Linked DNA regions of Homo sapiens: region 1 is linked to region 2. Evidence: promoter capture Hi-C in human tissues and cell types (Jung and others, 2019). All regions are on one chromosome and are shown on one strand. The core of a region is centred on a gene start or on the middle of the fragment in contact, and the rest is flanking DNA. Distances in the headings are between cores, read along the strand shown.

Region 1 (4,629 bases), core at 470-2,969, 780 kb before region 2:
TTTTTCCTAGGAATCTTAGCTCTGCAGGGTTCTTTGAGCTTTTAAAAACTACTTTATGGCCGGGCACGGTGGCTCATGCCTGTAATCCCAGCACTTCGGGAGGCCGAGGCGGGTGGATCACGAGGTCAGGAGATCGAGACCATCCTAGCTAACATGGTGAAACCCCGTCTCTACTAAAAATACAAAAAATTAGCCAGGTGTGGTGGTGGGCGCCTGTAGTCCCAGCTACTCCAGAGGCTGAGGTAGGAGAATGGTGTGAACCCGGGAGGCAGAGCTTGCAGTGAGCTGAGATCATGCCACTGCACTCCAGCCTGAGCGACAGAGCGAGACTCCGTCTCAAAAAAAAAAAAAAAATGCTTTATTAGGCTAGGTCTGGTGGCTCATGCCTGTAATACCAGCATTTTGGGAGGCCTAGGTGGCTGGATCACCTGACGTTGGGAGTTCGAGACCAGCCTGACCAACACAGTGAAACCCCATCTCTACTAAAAATACAAAATCAGCCAGACGTGGTGGCACATGCCTGTAATCCCAGCTACTTGGCAGGAGAATTGCTTGAACCCATGAGGTGGAGGTTGTAGTGAGCTGAGATCATGCATTGCTCTCCAGCCTGGGCAACAAGAGCAAAACTCCACCTCAAAAGAGAAAGACAGAAAGAAAGAAAAACTACTTTATTGAGGTATGATTGACATATAAAAAACTGTAGATATTTAATGTATACAACTTCACGTGTTTGGAAATAAGTATACATCCTTGAAACTATTATCACAACTAATGCCATAAACTTATCAATTGCCTCCAAAAATTCCCTTCCAGTTCATTTCTTCACTCCGCTTTGGTTTTGTTTGTCCTTTTGTGATAACATAAGATCTTATATAAGACCTACCCTTTCAGCAAAGTTTTAAATGTACAACGCCGTATTTGTTAATCATGTGCCCTATGTTGTACGGTAGGCCTCCAGAACTTGTTTATCTTGCAGGACTGAAACTTTGTACACTTTCCTTTTTGTTTTTGTTTTTTTGCTTTTTGCTTTTTTAATTTCCCCATGAAATTAAAAAAAAAAAGTTTCTCTTCATGAGAAACTTTGCACACTTTGACCAACACCTTTTCATTTCCTCCCACCTCTCAGCCTCTTGCAACCACTATTCTGCTTTCTGCTTCTGTGTGTTTGACTATTTTGGATTCCACATATAAATGAGGTCATACGGCCGGGCGCGGTGGCTCACGCTCCTAATCCAAGCACTTTGGGAGGCCGAGGCAGGCAGATCACAAGCTCAGGGGTTCAAAACCAGCCTGGCCAACATAGTGAAACCCAGTCTCTACTAAAAATAAAAAAACAAAATTAGCCGGGCATGGGGGTGGGCGCCTGTAGTCCCAGCTACTCAGGAGGGCAGGAGAATGGCGTGAACCCAGAAAGCAGAGCTTGCAGTGAGCTGAGATCGTGCCACTGCACTCCAGCCTGGGTGACAGAGCGACACTCTGTCTCAAAAAAAAAAAACATACGAGATCATATGTTATTTGTCTTTCTGTGTCTGTCTTATTTTACTTTGCATAATGTCCCTTAGGTTCGTCCAAGTCATCACAAATGACAAGATTTCCGTTTTTTTCCTTTTTATTTGAGACGCAGTTTCACTCTGTCGCCCAGGCTGGAGCGTAGTGGTGCGATCTTGGTCCACTGCAACTTCGACCTCCTGGGTTCAAGCAACTCTTCTGCCTCAGCCTCCCGAGTAGCTGGGATTACAGGTGTGCACCACCATGCCCAGCTAATTTTTTTGTATTTTTTTAGTAGAGATGCGGTTTCACCATGCTGGCCAGGCTGCTCTCGAACTCCTGACCTCATGTTCTGCCCGCCTTGGCCTCCCAATGTGCTTGGATTACAGGCGTGAGCCACTGTGCCTGGCCTGTTTTTTTTGAGACGGAGTTTCACTATTGTCACCCAGGCTGGAGTGCAATGTCCCTATCTCGGCTCACTGCAACCTCCAACTCCTGGGTTCAAGCGATTCTCCTCCCTCAGTCTGCCGAGTAGCTGGGATTAGAGGCACCCACCAACATGCCCGGCTAGTTTTTTGTATTTTTAGTAGAGACGGGGGTTTCACTATGTTGGCCAGGCTGGTTTTGAACTCCTGACCTCAGGTGATCCACCAGCCTCGGCCTCCCAAAGTGCTGGGATTACGGGCGTGAGCCACCACGCCTGGCCTAGATTTCCATTTTTTTAAAGGCTGAATAGTGTGTGTGTGTGTGTGTGTGTGTGTTTATCCATTTATCAGTGAACATTTAGGTTTTTTCCACATCTTGGTTATTGTGGCAATAAACATAGGAGTGCAGATCTCTCTCCAAGATATTGATTTCATTCCTTTGGATATATACCATGAAGGGGGATTGCTGAATCACCTGGTAGTTCTATTTTTAATTTTTTGAGGAACCTCCATAATGTTTTCTACCAATTTACATTCCCACCAATGGTGTACAAGGGTTCCCTTTCTCCACATCCTTGCCAATACTATTTCCCGTTAATATTATTTTGTTTTTGAGACAGTCTCGCTCTGTCGCCCAGGCTGGAGTGTAGTGGCACAATCTCGACTCACTGCAACCTCCACCTCCAGGGTTTAAGCGATTCTCCTGCCTCAGCCTCCTGAGTAGCTGGGACTACAGGCATGAGCCACCATGCCCGGCTGTTTTCTTTTGTTTTTTTGAGGCAGAGTCTTGCTCTGTCATACAGGCTGGAGTGCAGCGGCACATTCATGGCTCACTGTAGCCTCACCTCAATCTCCTGGACCGAACCAATCCTCCCACCTCAGCCTCCCAAGTACAGTAGCTGGGACCGCAGGCAGATGCCACTATACCCAGCTTATTTATTTATTTATGTTTGAGATGGAGTTCTGCTCTTGTTGCCCAGGCTGGAGTGCAGTGGCGTGATCTCGGCTCACTGCAACCTCCGCCTCCCGGGTTCAAGCGATTCTTCTGCCTCAGCCTTCCTGAGTAGCTGGGATTACAGGCATGTGCCCCCACACCTGGCTAATTTTGTATTTTTAGTATAGACGGGGTTTTTCCATGTTGGTCAGGCTCGTCTCGAACGCCCAACCTCAGATGATCCGCCACCTCGGCCTCCCAAAGTGCTGGGATTACAGGAGTGAGCCACCGCGCCCGGCTATTTCTATATTTTGAGACGGAGTCCCGCTCTATTGCCCAGGCTGGTGTGCAGTGATGTGTGATCTCAGCTCACTGCGACCTCCACCTCCTGGGTTCAAGCGATTCTCCTGCCTCAGCTTCCTGAGTAGCTGGGATTACAGGAGCCCACCACCATGCCTGGCTAATTTTTGTATTTTTAGTGGTGCACATGCCTGTAATCCCAGCTACTCGGGAGGCTGAGGCACAAGAATCCCTTAATCCCAGGAGATGGAGGCTGCAGTGAGTCGAGATTGTGCCACTGCACTCCAGCCTGGGCAACAGAGAGACTCTGTCTCAAAAATAAAAATAAAAAAAAAAAAAAATAAAAAATTCAAGGTTGCTTGAAGAAGATATAAGACTCCGGTGTCAGGTCCAACAGACTTTATTACTGACAACACAGCAAAGAAGCAAAAACTTGATACTCACGTCAATCCCCTTGCACTTCAAGTCCAACAGGACTGATGAGAAAGGGTCTGGACAGATGCTTTGCATACAGTGAGTGTGTAATGCAGTGAGTGTGTGCCAGAATGAAGAATCCTGAGCTTATAAAGCAATCTTTTAAGAGGGCCACAGGAAGACCTCCCCAACCTTTGCTTCTGACATATGCATCATTATATATATTTTTTACAGTGGTTAGGCAACAAATCTGCCTCTGGCCATGGGGACTCGCTGTTGCTATCTTCCTAAACCGTTTGCTATACAAACATTCTTGGCCGGGCGCTGTGGCTCATGCCTGTAATCCCAGCACTTTGGGAGGCTGAGGCTGGTGGATCACCTGAGATCAGGAGTTCGAAACCAGCCTGGCCAACATGGTAAAACCCCCGTCTCTACTAAAAATACAAAAATTAGCTGGGCATGGTGGCGGACGCCTGTAATCCTAGCTCCTTGGGAGGCTGAGGCAGGAGAATTGCTTGAACCCAGGAGGTGGAGGTTGCAGTGAGCCGAGATTGTGCCATTGCACTCCAGCCTGGGCGACAAGAGCGAAACTCCGTCTCAAACAAACAAACAAACGAAAAAACACAAACAGGCCGGGCGCGGTGGCTCATGCCTGTAATCCCAGCACATTGGGAGGCCGAGATGGGCAGATCATGAGGTCAGGAGTTTGAGACCAGCCTGGCCAGCATGGTGAAACTCCGTCTCTACTAAAAAAATACAAAAAATTAGCCAGGCATGGTGGCACGTGCCTGTAATCCCAGCTATTCGGGAAGCTCGGGCAGGAGAATTGCTTGAACTCGGGAGGGGGAGGTTGCAGTGGGCCAAGATTGAGCCACTGCACTCCAGCCTGGATGACAGAGCAAGACTCCATCTCAAAAAACAAACAAACAAAAAAAACCCAAAAACATTCTTGATAAGATAGTCTGGAACAAAAGCTTTAAAAAATGTGAAGATATGTGAGATGCCCTGGGAGAATTATCTACCAACATAGTGTACATTTCCCTTTAATACACGGGAATAGTCAATCTT
Region 2 (5,302 bases), core at 158-2,657:
TGACAAAAAAGACCCGGTTCACTTTCAAAAAAAAGAAGCCAACCCCTCCTGTGCTAGCAGTCACTGTAACCCACTAGAACTAATAATCACTAATTCCCTAGACCCCCGTTAGAGAAAAAGAGAAGGTGTAATCCTGACGGTCAATAGGACAAGGGTAACCCCCCAAGTTGCCATTTTAGTCCGAGGGGAGGTCCCCAGGCCCTTTCCCAAACCAGTGTTTCAAGCCTTTTATAATGAGCTAAATCTGCCAGCACCAGAGCTTCCAAAAAAGACAAGGAACTTGTTTCTCCAGTTAACGGAAAATGTAGCTCATTCCCTCAATGTTGCTTCTTGTTATGTACGCGGAGGAACTACTGTTGGAGACCGATGGCCTCAGGAAGCCCGAGAGTTGGTGCCCACTGATCCAGTTCCTCACACAATTCCAGCTCAGAAGGCCCAAACTAGCAACTTCTAGGTCCTAAAAACCTCAGTTATTAGACAATACTATGTAGCTAAGGAAAGAAAAAACTTCAGCAACCCCGTAAGAAAGCTCAATTGTCTAGGACAGAAGTTGTATACAACAGCACAACAAGGACAGTCACTTGGTGAGGCTTAAACCACACTGAAAAGAACTCATTACGTAAATTTTCTAAATTACAGACTGCCTAGGCTCATCCAGAATTTCATTGAGACTGGACGGCCCCCGCTGGACTATACTAGTCCAGGCACAGAGACTATACTATACTATACTAGTCCAGGCACAGGCTATACTAGTCTGTAGGCACAGAGACCCATCTCCAACAACAAAGAAGAAAAGTGAAAATCTGGGTCCTGGCTCTGGGAATCTAAGGCCAATTAATGTGAACTTTGCAAAACTAGACCAAAAGGAATAACCCCATCTCCCCACCCGTAGTAACAAAGGATCAAAGGGTACTCTCCCTGTAGCCCTCCCACTTCCACCACGTCTCAGATGGAAAGGGAAAGAGCCCAGGAGTGGCCACAAAGCACCGGCCACCCTGGGGCTGCGGGGCTGCAACGCTGCGCTCCAGGGGCCGACTAGAGCGAGGCTGGGAAGCGCTCTTGCCCAGGGCAAGAATCCAGCTCCGGGTGAGGACTTGAAACAGCGCGAGGCGGGAGGACGCGTCAGAAAGGGTTTTGCTAAGGAAAGTTTCGCGACAGGAGGTGTCTGCACGGCCCCACTGCAGAAAGACCGGGGACGGGACCAGCCTCAGGGCAACTTTAAACTCAAAAGGAAGCGACTCACGGACTCTCACCCGGACGTTTCAATTTGCTCTGGGTTGAGAAAAGAGGGGCCGGAACCTGCAGGTCTGTGGGGACCCCACGTCCCCTATATAGCAGCACCAGACAACTAGGAAACGCACACGCCGCCGTGCAACTTTCAGTCCACGCCATCCGCTTCCGGGTCTGTGCCAATCGGCGCAGGACAGAAGCGGGACCTGGGCCAGATCCCCGAGAGGTGGGCGGGGCCTGGGCGAGGCCGGGGCGGGGTGCAAAGGACAAGGGGCCCGGCGCGGAAGAGAAGAGTCTTGGGCTGGGAGGAGTCCGCGGGGGCGGGAAAGGGGCGGGGCCTGAGCTTTTCTCCATCTCGCTCTCCGCGCCTCTGTTTTCAAGGTTTTAGAGGTGAAACCCGCCAGTGAGGCTGGAGCAGCTCAGCAGTCAGGGAAATAGTACCTCCCTGAGAAGTCGCCGTGTGGCGGTAATTGGATCCGGGAAAGTTCCTTGCTATTGAAATTTATTTTAGCAATTTAATTCCAAAGCCTGGAAGTTGTCTACGGCAGGAATGCAAACTAGAATGCGAAATGCAAAGCCTTGCCTGAGCGAAAGGTACAATTTCATGCTGACGGTCCACAGAACAGAATAGAAATCCTCTCCCTTTCAATTCTCCATTCACTGGAGTGGGAGAGTCCACACTGTGCTCAGCTCCTGAGACTTCCCTAGGGCCACCGTCTGGGGTGCGGAGCAGAGGAGTGTGCTTAAACACAGCAGGGATGCGGGCGGGGTGGCAGGAGTCTGGGGTCCCCGCTACTCAGGAAGCAGGGGCGAGAGGATCGCTGAGCCTGGAGTTCCAGGCCAGCCTGGGCGACAAAGTAAGACCCTCTATCCCAGAGCTCCCTCCTCCGTCTCAATAAACAAAAAAGTGATTTAAAAAAAGCACTGACATTGTAACAGTGCATATAAGTTGCCCAGTTGTTTCTTACGTTTATTATTTCATGCTGCACTTAAAATGAGTTATTTTTGTCGTGGAAAAGAATCAAACTGTAAAATATCTTAAGAGATTTATTCTAAGCTAAATATGAATGACCCTCAGGAGGTCCTGAGAACATGTGTCCAAGGTGATGGGGAACAGCTTGTTCTTAGACATTTTAGGGAGGCATTAGACATCAATCAAATACATTTAAGAAATACGCTGCTTTGGTTCAGAAAGGAGGGGCAACTCAAAGCGGGGACTTCTGGGCTACAGGTAAATTGAAACATTTTCTGATTGACAATTGGTTGAGTTTGTCTAAATACCTGGGATCAACGGAGAGGAAATGTTCACGTTAAGGTAAAAGATTGTGGAGACCAATGTTGTTTTCAAGTCTTCTATTGGCTGCCCTTAGAGATAATAGATGATAAGTGTTTTCTATTCAGACCTTTAAACAGTGCGAGATTCTTACTTAATCTCTTCAGGATTGGTAGGGCCTAGAAGAAAAAGATCTAGCTATGTTAACAGAGATTCTTTACAAATGCACATGTACCCCTCACAAAGAACAGCTTTGCAGGACCATTTCAAAATATGGCACAGAAACATGTTTTGGGGTAAAATATTTTGACTTTCTTCTTTGTCACGTTATTCCAGAGTCAGACTGGAAAGTAAGACAGGATATATAGGACTAAATAAAACCCATCTGATGAGTATTTATGGTTTGTAGGGCATGACTCCCCAGACCCTTTAGATAGGAATTTGGGCAAGAGAAAAAAATTAGACCTTGGTCCTCATTCTCAAATTCTTTTTTTAAAAAATAATTCCTAAGTGTATTGTAATATCAAATTCACTTTACGTGCCTTCTGAAAATAAGTAGAAAATGTACTTTTTATCTTCAAGTTGTAATTTTTTTTTCCCTAGAAACAGGACCTAGTTCTGACACCCAGGATGGAATGCAGTGGTGGGAACACTGCCCACTGCAACCTCAACCTCTGGGGCTCAAGCAATCCTCCCGTCTCACCTCCCAACTAGCTGGGGCCACAGGCCCTCACCACCAGGCCTGGCTAATTTTTTAATATTTTGTAGAGTCGGGGGTCCACTATGATGCTTAGGCTGGCCTTGAACTCCTGTACTCAAACAATCCTCCCACCTTAGCTTCCCAAAGTGTTGGGATTAAAGGCGAGCTACCACACCCATCCAATTGTAATCTATTTTGGGTGTTTTCTTTGTTGTTCTCTCCTAAGTGTTCTATCAGGTGTGAACAACAAAGGCTGTAAAATAGGCAGTCTTCAAACATTGGGATTTATTTTCATATAGAGAATAATTATGAGATATTACTAAGGATACATTGCAGTCAGGTTATTCTGTTTTACGTGGGCCCTGAAGAAAATATAACTAAATTACAAAATTGGCTGGGTGTGATGGCTCACACCTGTAATCCCAGCACTTTGGCAGGCCTAGGCGAATGGATCACCCTGAGGTCAGGAGTTTGAGATCAGCCTGGCCAACACAGCGAAACCCCATCTGTACTAAAAATACAAAAATTAGCTGGGCATGGTGGCATGCGCCTGTAATCTCAGCTACTCAAGAGGTTGAGGCAGGAGAATTGCTTGAGCCCAGGCAGCAGAGGTTGCAGTGAGCTGACATCTCACCATTGCACTCCAGCCTGGGCAACAGAGTGAGACTGCATCTCAAAAAAAGAAAAAAAAAATTATAAACTTTTACATCACCGCATTTCTGCATGCAATAATTTTATGGCAATATCTGTAAGTTAACATGTACTATGAACTATATTTTTCACTCACATCCCTAGTTATCGAAGGTTTCATTTATCAAATACTAGTAATTAGCTAAAACATAATTATGTTTAGGAAGAAATTAGCATATCTAAAATATTAGCAAGTTTAAAAAAGCATAATGTGGCCAGGGATGGTGGCTCGTGCATGTAATTCCAGCATGATGGGAGACCGAAGCAGAAAGATAGCTAGTGGCCAAAAGTTGGAGACCAGCCCAGGCACATGGTGAAACCTCATCTTTATATTTTAAATATTTATGTATCTATGTATTCATTTATTCATCTTTGAGATGGAGTTTCATTCTCATTGCTTAGGCTGGAGTGAAATGGTGTGGTCTCGGCTCACTACAACCTCTGTCTCCTGGGTTCACGTGACTCTCCTGCCTCAGCCTCCCGAGTAGCAGGTATTACAGGCATATGCCACCATGCCTGACTAATTTTCTATTTTTACTAGAGACGGGGTACCTCCATGTTAGTCAGGCTGGTCTCGAACTCCCGACCTCAGGCGATCCACCCACCGCAGCCTCCCAAAGTGCTGGGATTAGAGGCCTGAGCCACCATACCCAGCCTCTATGTAGCTTTGTAAAAAATCCTTGTAGCTGTCTCTTTTAGGAATAAAATGGGAGGCAGGTTTGTCTGACACAGTTCCCAGCCTGACTTTTCTCTTTGGCTTAGTAATTTTTAAGCTTCTTTCACAACCTTCTGACAGACATAATGCTTTGACACACTGATATTGGTTTATATAGATTTTCCAAAACAGTAAAGTCCAAGGGTCTATCCTGAACTGGGTTAGCGGAGGCGAGAAGATTCCCAGAAGACTCCTGATCTCAAGCAATCCTCCCACCTCAGCCTCCGAATGTGTGAGGACCACAAGTGTGATCCACTGAACCCAGTGGAGTCTCCATCTCAAAAAAAACCAAAAAGCAATACGGGAATTAAGGTACTCTATGGAATTACATCATTTGACTTTTTTTTGAAATGAAAAGCCTCACATATTTATTACTGAACCCAGCCAACCAACATGTTCATAACAGATTCAGAGAGAAAAAATATATTCCCAATAAAACATGTCCAACTCTCCAGATAATGGTGACATTTTCTGCTTGATATGGTAACGTGATTGTAATGCTCAGACAGCATAAAAATGTGTGCCATCTCATGTACAATTCCTTATAGACACGGATTGGTTCTTCTCCAATGTCTCCTTTTAAAGTTGTACCTGATTTTATTACCAGTTTTCATCTGAATCCACTGGGGAATGGAACAATTTTGCTTTTTTTCTTGGCCAGGAATTGCTTAATCCTGATAGTCTTATGAGAAGA

What was found. Contacts are between HindIII fragments. The study calls those that stand out against the background at their distance.
Region 1: a contact is called between a fragment that was not itself captured here and the fragment with the promoter of ZNF816 in region 2, in 1 of the 25 tissues and cell types used here (spleen).

What each region holds. Positions count from the first base shown.
Region 1 is chr19:52,179,550-52,184,178 of GRCh38, forward strand. No RefSeq gene overlaps it. Among named protein-coding and RNA genes, the nearest start is that of PPP2R1A, 8.2 kb to the right of the region's middle. The HindIII fragment of the contact is 6,111 bases long and covers 1-4,629 here.
Region 2 is chr19:52,961,474-52,966,775 of GRCh38, forward strand. ZNF816 (zinc finger protein 816) reads right to left here and starts at 1,408. Exons shown (of 4, transcript NM_001202457.3): 1 at 1,254-1,408. ZNF816-ZNF321P (ZNF816-ZNF321P readthrough) reads right to left here and starts at 1,408. Exons shown (of 4, transcript NM_001202473.2): 1 at 1,244-1,408. RefSeq lists an enhancer at 1,126-1,375 and a silencer at 1,436-1,635. The HindIII fragment of the contact is 7,894 bases long and covers 1-5,302 here.